Regions from separate parts of the Homo sapiens genome. Here regions 1, 2, 3 and 5 are each linked to region 4. The links are contacts of gene promoters, found by promoter capture Hi-C in blood cells and fetal thymus (Javierre and others, 2016). All regions are on one chromosome and are shown on one strand. Each heading gives the region's core, a stretch centred on a gene start or on the middle of the fragment in contact. The rest is flanking DNA. Distances are from core to core; before and after follow the strand shown.

Region 1 (2,834 bases), core at 24-2,523, 520 kb after region 4:
CCAGAATATTTCCTGTGCACCAGGCTTCCGGCCCAACAAATGCCGTTTACAGGCAGGGACTTCACAGAATCGGACAAACCACTGTACTCGAGCACGTTTCTTAGGAGGAGGATCAGAGTCTAGAAAGAATTTGGTGGAAAGGGAAAGGTTAAGACAACTCAAGGACACTTTACTGAGCAATTCCTATGTGCCAGACACTGTGCTTAACCCTTGACATGTGTGGTTTTGTTTTTTGTTTTTTGAGACAGAGTCTCTGTCACCCAGGCTGGAGTGCAGTGGCCCCATCTTGGCTCACTGCAACCTCTGCCTCCTGGGTTAAAGTGATTCTGCTGCCTCAGCCTCCTGAGTAGCTGAGATTACAGGCACCTGCCATCCTACCTGGCTAATTTTTGTATTTTCAGTAGAAACGAGGTCTCACCACGTTGGCCAGGCTGGTCTCAAACTCGTGACCTCACGTGATCTGCCTACCTTGGCCTCCCAAAGTGCTGGAATTACAGGCATGAGCCACCACCTCCCGCCAAAATTTTTTTTTTTTTTGTGACGGAGTCTTGCTCTGTCCCCCAGGCTGGAGTGCAGTGGCGTGATCTCGGCTCACTGCAACCTCTGCCTCCCTGGTTCAGGAGATTCTCCTGGCTCAACCTCCCGAGTAGCTGGGACCACAGGCCTGTGCCACCACGCCTGGCTAATTTTTATATTTTTAGTAGAGATAGGGTTTCACCATGTTGGCCAGGCTGGTCTCAAACTCTTGACCTCAAGTGATCCGCCCGCCTTGGCCTCTCAAAGTGCTGGGATTACAGGCATGAGCCACCATGCCTGGCCCAACATGTGTTATCTTTTATTTTATTTTATTTTTTTGAGACGGAGTCTCACTCTGTCACCTGGACTGGAGTGCAGTGGTTTGATCTTGGCTCACTGCAAGCTCCGCCTCCCAGGTTCACACCATTCTCCTGCCTCAGCCTCCCAATTAGCTGGGATTACAGGCGCCCGCCATCACGCCCAGCTAATTATTTTTTTGTATTTTTAGTAGAGACGGGGTTTCACCGTGTTAGCCAGGACGGTCTCAATCTCCTGACCTCGTGATCCGCCTGCCTCGGCCTACCAAAGTGCTGGGATTACAGGCATGAGCCACCACACCTGGCCGATCCTTAATCCTTCTAATAACCCTACAAGGTAGGTACTACAGCTATCCCCCTTTTCAGGCAAAGAAATCAAGTGACGGGGGACCTTAAAGAGTTTGTCAAAGGTCACATGACCAACTGCAGCAATCTAATTCCAGCCCACACACCCGCTCTTCTGGGATTGCTCCATTTCCTAATGGTGCTATCAGCCGGCAAAGGAATGACAAAAAGGCCTCTGAGAGGAGCTACTCTAAACACAGGCAACGAACAAATAAAAATCAGTGACTATAAAGACAGCATCAAACAGCAGCAAAACAAAAATCCTAGCAAGAATTATAGCATCAGGCTGGGTGCAGTGGCTCACGTCTGTAATCACAGTACTCTGGGAGGCCAAGGCAGGCGGATCACTTGAGGTCAGGAGTTGGAGACCAGCCTGCCCAACATGGTGAGACCTCATCTCTGCTAAAAATACAAAAAATTGTCCAGGTGCGGCGGCTCACGCCTGTAATCCCAGCACTTTGGGAGGCTGAGGCGGGCGGATCATGAGGTCAGGAGCTCAAGACCATCCTGGCTAACACGGTGAAACCCCGTCTCTACTAAAAATACAAAAAATTAGCTGGGCATGGTGGCGGGTGCCTGTAGTCTCAGCTACTCGGGAGGCTGAGGCAAGAGAATGGCTTGAACCCGGGAGGCAGAGCTTGCAGTGAGCCGAGATGGCGCCACTGCACTCCAGACTGGGCGACACAGCGAGACTCTGTCTCAAAAAAAAAAAAAAAAAAAAGAAAGAAAAAGAAAATTAGCTGGGCATGGTGGCAGGTGCCTGTCATCCCAGCTACTTGGGAGGCTGAGGCAGGAGAACTGCTTGAACCCAGGAGGTTGAGGCTGCATGAGCTGAGATTGTGCCACTGCACTCCAGTCTGGGTGACACAGCAAGATTCTGTCACTGTCACACACACACACACACACACACACACACAAGAATTACAGCATCAACCACTGAGATGACTTCTGGCAAATGCTTGCAATCTTCAGCTTTATTATTACAGCATACGATTAGTATCACTCCGTACCAGCAATAGCTCCAACCGAAAGAACACTCATTAGTGCCTCATCATCATCCTCTCTTCCCTGCTTAGCTTTCTTCAGAGAAAGACTAAAGTCATCCAATGGAGCACCAAGAGAGGATTCTAGAATCTATACACCGAAGCCCATGATTCTGATGTGCTGCCTCTACTGGACATTAGTTTGATGAGGTTTTTCTCCATACTTCTAAGTATGTCAAAGAGAAAGTATGTCCAAAATCCTCCTTATCTATGTGCAGTACTCTCCCCTTATCTGCTGAGGGTACGCGCCAAGACCAGTAGATGCTTGAACCTGCAGATGCTGCCACTAACCCTGTATATGCTATGATTTTTCCTACACACACATACTGTACAGCACGGATACACTGGACAAAGGGATGACTCACATTTCAGGTGGGACAGCGTGAGATTTCACCACATTACTCACAATGGCACACAATTTAAAGCTTATGACTTGTTTTTTTCTGTAATTTTCCATTTAATATTTTTGGACTATGGTTGTTGTCAGGTAACTGAAATCGCAGAAGGTGAAACCACGGATAAGGGGGACTATAGTAATATAAAACATCTTTATCCACTCAGTCTATCAGTTCCTTCTCTTGGGCATACAGACTACCACAGGATTACCTAATGA
Region 2 (2,700 bases), core at 7-2,506, 850 kb after region 4:
GGATTTATAGGTTTGCTTCTTCCTTTTCGTTTTTGGAGGCATTGAAGAGATCCTGGAAGCCTATTCACCTAGTGTCATTGCAAAATCGAAGTGGTGGTGTGTTACAGAGCAGTGAAGTGAGGGCCAGCATGCATACTGTGACCTCAGGAGAGATCTAGTCTTTTGACAGAAATAGCTAAAAAATGTTTTGAATTTTTTTTATTTTGAGCATCTTTTAATGTGGAGGTGCAGTTGGAGAAGTTTAAAAATACTTATTTACAAGCTTGGCTATTATTACTAAAAACAAATGATTTGTTTTCATTTGGAGGCAGAGACCAAGGGCATTTGAGGACTGACAATCAGGTTGGCAGGTTGTGACAGTCTCTTTAAACCTTCTAAAGAGTTCATTTGTTTTGCCCTGTCTGCCTTTAGTTGGGAGAACCTTATATTTGCAAATTTTCTTTCTGTCTGAAAATAGGTTGAGGCTTCAGTTGGTTTTTTCATTGAGTTGGGTTATAAGTGGTTTGCTGTACATTTATTGAAAACATTGCTCCATCATATGCAACAAGCTAAATTTTGGTCTCTGGGAGGAATAAGGCAAAACTAAGTCCTGATAATTATGTTCCCCTAGGAGGTTAGTCAGTTTCTTTTTTTCCCTCCAGCAGTTTTTTAGAAAAGTAATATACTATAAAATTATTTAATCTATGAATTTTCCCTAACTCACTCCTGCATTTTTAGTCTGTCATTTTCCTGTGTTTGTCTCCTTCACTTTCACACACTGTTGTTGTATGCTAACCTGTTTCTCCCTGTGGAATGTAAGTTCTAGGTAGCAACCGTTCCTTACTTATTATTCCAAGTGCCCAGGCCAGCTAGGTGCTTGAATGATTCACTTTATGGTCTCATTTCCCACCTGACTAATATAAACTTAAACTGAAATTTGAGGTAACTAGTGGACTACACAGAAAGAGTGAGTTTGAGAATTGTTGTTTGGAGACGATCTTGCTCTGTGGCCCAGGCTGGAATGCAGTGGCACAATCATGGCTCTTTGCAACCTTGAACTCCTGAGGTCAAGTGATCTTCCCACCTCAGCCTCACAAGTAGCTGGTACCACAGGCACGGACTACCGTGCCCCGCTAATTTGTAAAACTTTTTGTAGAAATGGAGTCTTGCTGTGTTGCCCAGTCTGGTCTTGACCTCCTGGATTCAAGCCATCCTCCCACCTTGGCCTCCCAAAGTGCTAGAATTACAGGCATGAGCCATCACGCCTGGGCAGAGAATCTTAATTTTGATGCAAAAATGATATTGAGTGAGGTATGATGATATACTTTTCAGAATAAAGAGCTATCCTACCTAAGACATTACACTGCTAGATTTTTGAAAGTGTGGGCCCTTCCATTGAGAATGAATGTATGAGAGGGAGGAGTTATGAACTCCCCTTTGAGGTATTTAGGATCTAAAAGTGTCCTTTGAGCTGGGCCTGAAAGTTGAATAGGATTTATATAGATCATTTTGGGAAGGGGAAGAATGCCTCATTGTGAATGTGAGTAGCAAGTAGAAAGGATCCCCTCACAGGGATTTTTTTTTTTTTAAGAAAGAAAGTAGGAAGGAATTAGGATGCATTGTAGGAAGTAGTATTACCCTTATATAGCATGGAAGGATGCAAGAATGGAGATGTGTAGTAGGAAATGAGGCTAGCAAGATACTGTCTTAGCCCATTCAATCTACTGTAACAAAATACCATAAACTAGGTAGCTTGTCAGCAACAGAAATTTATTTCTCAGAGTTTGGAAGGCTGGGAAGTCCAAAATCAGTTCCCCAGTGGATTCAGTGTCTCGTGAGGGCTCTTCCTAAGTCACCTTTTCACTGTTTTCACACATGGTGGCAGGGGCCAGGCAGCTCTCTGGAGTCTCTTTTATAAGGGCACTAATCCCATTCATGTGGGCACTAACTGGTGATCTAATCACCTCCCAAAGGCCCCACCTCCTCATACCATTACCTTGGGGGTTAGGATTCCAACATATGAATTTAGGGAGACAGAATTCAGACCACAGCAGACATATTAGGCATGATTATGTTTTAAACTTTGCATCTAATTAACTTGATTTTTCCTTGCTTGTTAAAACATATACACACAGAGTAACAGTGTATGTATGGGAGAGGTGAGGAGAAGGCAGAATATTAGCTTATTTTGAGCTAGGAATTATCAGTAGAGGCCACTTTCTCGTGCAATATTTTTGTAGATAATAAATACAGTTGAATGAATGATTATTATAAAGCTTTGTATTTTATATTTGTTAAATGTTAATTAGGTTGTGTTTGAATAGTTGAGATGTTTAAGATGTCAGGAGTTCGAGACCAGCCTGGCCAACATGGCAAAGCCTCGTCTCTACTAAAAATACAAAAATTAGCTGGGTGTGGTGGCACATGCCTGTAATCCCAGCTACTCGGGAGGCTGAGGTAGGAGAATCACTTGAACCCAGGAGGTGGAGGTTGCAGTGAACTGAGGGCAGGGCCTGAGAGGTGGCAGTTCTTTTTTTTTTGAGGCAGGGTCTTGCTCTGTCCCTAAGCTGAAGTGCAGTGGCATGATCACAGCTCACTGCAGCCTTGACTTCCCAGGCTCAAGCGATCCTCTCACCTCAGCCTCCCAAGTAGCTGGGACCACAGGTGCCCATCATCACACCTGGCTAATTTTTATATGTTTTGCAGAGATGGGGTTTCGCC
Region 3 (2,700 bases), core at 200-2,699, 820 kb after region 4:
CAAAGAATGGACTATTTCCAACCACTTATTTATTGGAAGGCAGCCAATAATGTCTGAAATCCCAGTTTTATTTTTTAAATTCATAGGATTTTACATTCATTTCCCCATAATACATCTTTCATAGGATAACAGAAGATTGCCTTTTCTCCCCCAAGCCTTTGAGTAAAATTGACATTCCAGGCAATATACCACATTTACCTGTGGTTTCTTATACCCTGATCACCTTAGGGGACTCCTCAGTACACATGGCCCAGGATGGGAATCCTTGAACTTTGGTTTGAGGTCATCTTCTTTAGGATGGCCTTCAAGACCCTGTGCAATCTGATTCTAGCCTTATTTTCTGCCTCTCTTCCCCCACATCCCACCAACCTTCTGTTCTCTGAATAGATCCCAAGTTTGTGTCCCTGTTTACCTCTGCTCTTGATGCCTGGACCACCCTTTTTGACACAAATCGGAAATACTCTCCTATGTAAAGTCTTCCCAGACACAACAATTACACACATTCAAATTAGATTTAGATGCTCCCATTTTGGTGTTCCACACCACTTGGTTTATTCTGGTATAGTGTAGTAGGAAAGAAAGAACTGGCTTTGGAGTGGGGACAGATCTTAGTTCAGAATCCATGTTCCATGTTTATTAAATTGTAACCTTAAACCAATCATGTTTGTGAGTCTGAATCCTCTTCTGTAAATGCAGATCCATTTGTAATGGCTGTCAGAAGGACTACAAGTTCATGTATGCAATGTGCTTGGCAGAGCGCCTGGCTCAAAGTCATTCCTGTTCCAGGAATGTTTCTTGTCATGCCAATAATGGCATGAAAGTCTGTGTTCCCCACCAGACTGTGACCTCTGTGTCCTGTATGCTGGTCACAGGGCCAAGAATAGAATAGGGCTTGATGATAGAATAGAGCAGGGTGATGTCGATTACTAAAATCTGGGAATGTTTCCCTTTATTTTCTGAGTTGAACTGCATTGAAATGAGATCACCTGAGCGGTAGAGGGCACAAGAGAGTTAGTTGGTGATGAGAGGCTCAACCAAGTAAGAGGTCACTTTTTTTTGTTTTGCTCTTTCATCCAGGCTAGAGTGCAGTGGCGTGATTTTGGCTCACCGCAACCTCCGCCTTACGGTTTCAAGCAATTCTCCTGCCTCAGCCTCCTGAATAGCTGGGATTACAGGCGCCCACCACAATGCCCGCCTAATTTTTGTATTTTTAGTAGAGATGGGGTTTCACCATATCGGCCAGGCTGGTCTCGAACTCCTGACCTCGTGATCCGTTTGAACTAACTGTTGCCTCTGCCCTAGAGTGCTTTTCCCCTGTATTTTTTTTTTTTTTTTGGCTTGCCTTCTTAAGTTCTCTGCTTCAATTTGACATCGTCCATGTGGTCTTAGCTCATTCTTGTTATAATAACAGTGTCTTGATTGTGCCCAGCAATATTAGGTGCCCAAGTATTGTTGACTGAATTAAGAAGAGGGATTATCATTCCAAATAATTTGGTTTTCATTAATGGAACTTAGAATATCACTGACTCTTGCTCTTTTGACCCAGGTTTTTCTTAAAGCTATAAGAAACATTAAATGAAGGTCTAATTGACATACAGGAAACTGCACATAACTTTAAAGTAACAATTATGAGTTTCTACATATGTATACACCTGTAAACCATTATCACAATCAAGATAATGAGCATATTCATCACCTCAAAATTTCCTCATGTGACTTTGTACTTCATTCCCTCCCCAGCAACCATTAATCTGCTTTCTGTCACTGAAGATGGGTTGCATTTTGTAGGATATTATCTAAATAGAATGATACAGTAAGTACTGTTTCTTTTTGTATAGTTTCTTCGATTCAGCATAATTATTTTGAGATTCATCCATGTTACCACACGTATTAATAGTTCATTCTTTTTCTTAGTGAATGACATTTCATGATGTAGATATATCACAATTTGTTTATCCATTTGGGTTTCCAGTTTTTGGCTTACAAATAAAGCTGCTGTGAATATTTGTGTACGTGTCTTTGTATGGGCATTCATTTCCATTTTTGGGGTTCATACCTAGGAGTGGAATGGCTAGATCATATGGTAGGTATATATCTAACTTTAAGAAACACCCAAACTGTTTTCTAAAGTGATTCTACCATTACATTCTTACCAGCAGTGTTTGACAGTTCTAGTTGCCCTACATCCTCACCATAATTTGATGTGTGGTCAGTCTTTTAAAATTTTAGCCATTATAGTGAATATAACAGTATCTTATCATAGGTTTAGTTTGTATTTTTTTGAGTGACCAATAATGTTGGCATCTTTTCATGTGCTTATCTGCCATCTGTGTATCTTTGATGACATGTTTGTTAAAATCTTTCGCCCCCTTTTTATTGGATTGTTTTTTATTATTGCATTCTAAGAGTTATTTATATATTCAAGTCCGTTATCAGAAGTTTTGCATATATTTTCTCCCAGTTTGGCCTGCCTTTTTTGTTTTTATAACAGTGTCTTTCAAAACCAAAAGTTTTTCATTTTAATGGTGTGTCTAGTTTATTGATTTTTTTCCTCTTGTTAATAGTTTGTGCTTTTTCTTTCGTATTCAAGAAGTCTTTGCCAAACCCAAAGTCACTAAGATTTTATCCTATATTTTCTTGTAGAAATTTTATGGTTTAAATCTTATATTTAGAAAGCCTATGATCCATTTCAGATTAATT
Region 4 (2,700 bases), core at 111-2,610:
CATCAAAGTCCAGGCCTGGCACAGTGGCTCACGCCTGTAATCCCAGTACTTTGGGAGGCCAAGACAGGAGGATTCCCTAAGCCCAGGAGTTTGAAATTAGCCTGGGCAACATCGCAAGACCCAGACTCTTATTAAAACACACACGCACACACACACACGCAAGATACATCATAGTCATGATACTCCATGAAATAAGCTACCTCTGAAGGAAAATACTCAGGTGGGGACTGAATCACCAATTATTAGAAATGTTTAGAGAACTCCTGTACAAACCAAAAGTAGAGAATTTCAAGGTTAGAAGAAACCTTACAACTCACCCAACTGAGACCTAAGCCCTCTCTAATATATTCCTGGACGAGGTCGCCCAACCGTTTTGGTAATGGAGAACTACCCATGGAAACAAGTCACTTCAACTTAGGCCAAATATGATGCAAAGTTACTTTACTGAAGCCACACCATCCTCTGGTAACTTTCGTCCACTAGTTTCACCTATCACTTAAGTGTCCCTCAAATATTTTGGATAGTGATAATATGCCCCTTAAATATCCTGTCCTCCAAATTAAAGTATCCAACTCCGTCAACCTTTCCTGGTAACATAATACCAAGACTCCCTCACCATTCAGGCTGCGTTCCTCAAAGAAACCTTCATTCTTGCTTTAGCGACTGTATTCAAATGACTCGAAAAGCTTCTCCCATTCTGACGTCTTACAACCCAAGATCTCCCACTTGCCCAGCTGACACCACAGGGAAGCCTCTAATCACGCTTGCCACCTCCACCCAAGGAAGCATTTGGGGTGGAAAGTGTGCCCTGTTGCTCCATTGGGAGACATGGAGACAAGAAGTGACGGCGGCACCGACAGAGAAGCCGGCACACTGTTCGCCTCCCCATTGCAAGCCTCCTCCCTCACCGGTATTGCTTGGGGTCGCTGGGAGACTTGACGATCTCAGGGTCCCCAGCATTACTGAGAGACCCCCTCCGTCCCTCTTCCTCAGATTCATCCGCTCCTAGACGGGCAACCCGGCTGTTCTCGCCCAGATCCTGTCCATTGGGCTGCAGGTCAGGGCAGCTGCAGGTAGACTTCGCCTTGTTCCTTCCAGGCATGGCCAGAATAGGAAAGGGTCTGGCAGCAGCAGAGTCTTCGCACCGACCCCGCGTTTCGATTCCCCAGAGCGCCGCGAGCTCCCGCCCGGCCTCACACAACTTCCTCCGGGTGGCACAGACTGCAGCAACAGTGACTCTCCTCAGCATTCACCACCAAGCTGGAGCGATGGACATCCCGCTTCCCAGGACCCACCTCCTCCGCGTTCTAGAGGCGGTGGCGGCCGGCCCTGGTGCTGCCGCAGCCGCGGGGAACAGGCCTGAACCCCTCCCCCAACCCAGTCTCCCTCTCGCCGACTTCCCTCGTCCCTCCGCCCTCCCGGCCGCCGATGACGCTACTGATTTCAGCCAATCATGAGGCAAGAAAGTAGTCACGCTCACGTAAGCAACCAATCAGAACAGGAAAGGAGAGGCACCAACGTGACCCGGACTGATTCTCGGAACAGCCAGCGAACATTTCGAAACCCAAAGTGGGCGGGGCGAGGGAGAAGAAGCGGAGAGAGTGGCGCGGAGGACGACGGGAGAAGGGCCCCCGGCGCGTTTATGACGTACGAGTGTGTTTTGTGGAAACCACTGAGTAGTGCTCCGCGTGTCAAAGAAAAATATTCCCCTAATGAGAAAACTGAGAAACGAGTGCAGAGAATTAATTCCAAAGTTTTAAATTTTCCCATTCGTGTCATAGTTTGGGTACCCTACTCCTCAGACCCGGGGCGAGCCTTCGGCTGTGACTCAGCACATAAAAAACCAGAACGCCGGAAGTATTTTCCTACACCCGCCGGATGGACGCTGCTCCCGAGCGCCGCAAATACTAATTGGCTCTTCTCTACCCTACAGTCGGCCCGACAGTGGTGGGGTTTCATCCTCAAGCCCTAAGAAAGTGCTAAAAAGACCAGTCTGGATGTGCTAACTCTTCTGTGTGAAAACGTTTTTTAGCTCCTCCAGCCTCCTGTTAAATTCGGCCAATTTTTATCGAGCAGCTGCAGCGTCTGCTGCCTTCAAGTCTCCTTTCCCAGTTTTTCCCGCTAGCAGTGGTCTTTGGTTAGCAATGTAAAATGTGACGGAAATACAAACATAAATGAAAGCTAAAAAGCAGCTGAAATTAGTAAGATGCACTATACTGACACCATGGGGTAAGAGATCATAGCTCATACATACGAATGAGCGGGGAAAGACGTGAAGCAGGGAGATGTGTTGATAGTTACTGTATCTTCAAGGTTTTCGAGGCCTCTTCTGAGTTCCAAATGCAAGGAATACAACCATGAACAAAACAAAACTTGCCTTAGGCTGGGCGTGATAGTGATAGCTCACACCTATAATCCTAGTACTTTGGGAGGCCGAAGCGGGAGGATTGCTTTGAGCCTGGGAATTTGGTACCAGCCTGGACAACATGGTGAGACCCCCGTCTGTACAAAATTCTTTTTTAAAATTAGCCAGGCTTGGTGATGCGTGCATGTGGTCCCAGCTACTCAGGAGGCTGAGGCAGGAGGAACGCTTGAGTCCAGGAGGTCGAGGCTGCAGTGAGCCGTGATTGCAACACTGCACTCCAGCCTGGTTGACACAGTGAGACCCTGTCTAAACAACGACAACAAAAATTTAAAGCC
Region 5 (2,763 bases), core at 129-2,628, 910 kb before region 4:
TTGGGAGTCTACTATGTACAGATACATTACAAACTTTATCTCATTTAATATTTACAACTACTACTTTACAGAATATAAAGCTGCTCTGGCAAGTTAAGAATTTGCTCAAAGTCATGCTACAGAGTGACAGACCTAGGATTCAAGACTAGGTCAAATTAGTGCTCCTTCCACTTACCATGTTGCCTCTGTACAATTTCCCTTCCATGCTGCTTAGTTTATACCATTCCCAAAGACACTGTTTCTTCCCTATGGCCTAACTCTTCATGGTTGGATACCTAGCATCCAGAGTGGTTATCTACTACAGATAAGAGAAGGGAAGAAAAATAAATACTGAATTAGGAGAAAAAAAATCATTTTTCATTTCTCCAGAATTCCATCCTTAAGAGAAACAATTTCAGTTAAGTGTCATAAACCAAAAGAAGGAAATGTAAAGAAATTTGGTCCATGCACGAGCAAAGAAAAGTAATTTTAATTTATCTATTCTCATAGTTGGCCCACAGTAGTTCATGGAGCTCAGCCTAAGTTAAATACAGATCTTTTTCTAGAATCTCCATGTTCTTTTAAAAGAAACTTTTATATCATCTTTATTTCCAATATAAATAATAAATATTATTTATATTTTACTAAATTTTTATTTGAAATTATTTTAGAATACTTCCAAAGACAGTACAGAATGTTCCTATATGCTTTTAGCCCATTTTTCTCTAATGTTACCATCTTATTTAACATGGTACATCTATCAAAACTAGGAAATTAACACTGCTAAATACTACTAGTTAAATTCTGGAGGCTCTATTTGGATTTTTACACTAATGTCCTTTTCTTGTTCCATGGTCCAATAATACCACATTACATTTAGTTGTCATGTCTCAGTAGCCTCTTCCAATCTGTGACAGTTTCTCAGTGGACACTTCTGAAGAGTCAGGAACTTTATAAAATCTCCCTCAATCTGGGATTACCTAATGTATTCTCAGAATTACACTGAGATGTGTATCACCGCAGAGGTGATATGTCCTTGTTACATCATATCAAGGCCATGTGTTATCAACTTGAGTTATTACTGGTAGTGATAACCTTGATTCTTTGGTTAAGATAACCAATTTCTTAAATAATACTTCTTGCTCATAATGTAATTCATGAGAAAACTAATGCTACTGCACATATGTATTTCATCTAGTGATTTAGTGTTGTTTAGGATACTAGTGGCGGACCCTGGACTAATGGAAAAAGTATAAGGTTTGGAGCCCCAAGAACTGAATTCAAATCCTATGTCTAGTATTCACTGACTTTAAATCACAATTTCTGCCAGCCTCAATTCCCTCACCTGAAATACGGGGATTATTATCACAGTCACTTCACAGAATTGTTGTAAAGATTAATATATGCATTGGCTGTGTGTGGTGGCTCACACCTGTAATCCCAGCACTTTGGGAGGCCAAGGTGGGCGGATCATGAGGTCAGGAGTTCGAGACCAGCCTGACCAACATGGTGAAACCCTGTCTCTACTAAAGATACAAAAATTAGCCGGGCGTGGTGGTGCGCACCTGTAATCCCAGGTACTCGGGGGCTGAGGCAGAAGAATTGCTTGAACCTAGGAGGCAGAGATTGGAGTGAGCTGAGATCGCGCCACTGCACTCTGCCTGGGCGACAAAGCGAGATTCAGTCTCAAAAATATAGATAGATAGATAGATAGATAGATAGATAGATAGATAGATATGCATCATATTTTATAACCATGAAACACTATACAAATATTAATTGTTGCTATTATTTTTCAGCTTTTGGGTTGCTTACTGGGCTTTTTTTCCTTCTTACTTTAACGAAGAACTTTCAGGCCGGGTGCGGTGGCTCACACCTGTAATCCTAGCACTGTGGGAGGCTGAGTCGGGCAGATCATGAGGTCAGGAGATGGAGACCATCCTGGCCAACGTGGTGAAACCCCATCTCTACTAAAAATACAAAAATTAGCTGGGTGTGGTAGTGGGCGCCTGTAATCCCAGCTACTCAGGAGGCTGAGGCAGGAGAATGGCTTGAATTTGGAGGTGGAGGTTGCAGTGAGCCGGGATCGCGCCACTGCACTCCAGCCTGATGACAGAGAGAGACTCTGTCTCAAAAAAAAAAGAACTTTCAGCCTGGCCAATATAGTAAGACCCCATCTCCACAAAATTAGAAAAATTATCCAGGCATGGTGGAGCATGCCTGTGGTCCCAGCGACTCCAGAGGCTGAGGTAGGAGGGTCACTTGGACCTGGGAAGTCAAGGCTTCAGTGAGCCATGATCATGACCAAGCCACTGCACTCTAGCCTGGGCAACAGAGTGAGAACCTGTCTCAAAAATAAAATAAAATAAAAATAATAAAAAATTTTCATAAATAAGTACCTATATGAAAAAAACCACTGAATCTCAGAAATAAAATGCTGAAGCTACAATTATAAAGTCACATAAAAGGCTGCCTGGGGGTGCCCAGTCTGTTTTCCACCTCTGTTGATCTATAAATACAACAAAAAGGAAAACTTTGAGACCAGTTAAATAAATGGTAAATACCACATACACATTTCCAAAAGTTAATCATTCAGAAACTGTACCTACTTGAGTCAATGAGGGAAAAGCACAGAATAATTTGACTGAATCACATTTCTATTCTATGTCAATGAGGGAAAAGCACAGAATAATTTGACTGAATCACATTTCTATTCTATGTCTCTTTTTTTTTTTTTTTTTGAGACTGCTGGGCCGCCACTGCCTCCCAGGTTCAAGCAATCCT

What was found. The method cuts DNA at HindIII sites, captures the fragments that hold promoters and counts their contacts. A CHiCAGO score of 5 or more calls a contact.
Region 1: a contact is called between a fragment that was not itself captured here and the fragment with the promoter of NRDC in region 4, in 1 of 17 cell types (neutrophils). The highest score is 5.1, in neutrophils.
Region 2: a fragment that was not itself captured here is called in contact with the fragment with the promoter of NRDC in region 4 in 1 of 17 cell types (fetal thymus); the score reaches 5.1 in fetal thymus.
Region 3: a fragment that was not itself captured here is called in contact with the fragment with the promoter of NRDC in region 4 in 1 of 17 cell types (fetal thymus); the score reaches 8.1 in fetal thymus.
Region 5: a contact is called between a fragment that was not itself captured here and the fragment with the promoter of NRDC in region 4, in 1 of 17 cell types (naive CD4 T cells). The highest score is 6.1, in naive CD4 T cells.

What each region holds. Positions count from the first base shown.
Region 1 is chr1:52,397,745-52,400,578 of GRCh38, forward strand. ORC1 (origin recognition complex subunit 1) reads right to left here. Exons shown (of 17, transcript NM_004153.4): 4 at 1-119. Among named protein-coding and RNA genes, the nearest start is that of ORC1, 5.3 kb to the right of the region's middle. The HindIII fragment of the contact is 2,742 bases long and covers 1-2,644 here.
Region 2 is chr1:52,727,308-52,730,007 of GRCh38, forward strand. All of the region lies in intron 1 of ZYG11B (zyg-11 family member B, cell cycle regulator), which reads left to right. Among named protein-coding and RNA genes, the nearest start is that of ZYG11B, 2.2 kb to the left of the region's middle. The HindIII fragment of the contact is 1,993 bases long and covers 261-2,253 here.
Region 3 is chr1:52,700,073-52,702,772 of GRCh38, forward strand. No RefSeq gene overlaps it. Among named protein-coding and RNA genes, the nearest start is that of COA7, 3.1 kb to the left of the region's middle. The HindIII fragment of the contact is 3,859 bases long and covers 1-2,700 here.
Region 4 is chr1:51,877,367-51,880,066 of GRCh38, forward strand. NRDC (nardilysin convertase) reads right to left here and starts at 1,361. Exons shown (of 31, transcript NM_001101662.2): 1 at 909-1,361. The coding sequence starts at 1,249. RefSeq lists enhancers at 1,351-1,645, 1,529-1,708, 2,099-2,652 and a silencer at 1,399-1,448. The HindIII fragment of the contact is 5,345 bases long and covers 685-2,700 here.
Region 5 is chr1:50,963,385-50,966,147 of GRCh38, forward strand. It overlaps a transcript of CDKN2C not described here. Among named protein-coding and RNA genes, the nearest start is that of FAF1, 4.5 kb to the left of the region's middle. The HindIII fragment of the contact is 3,553 bases long and covers 1-2,763 here.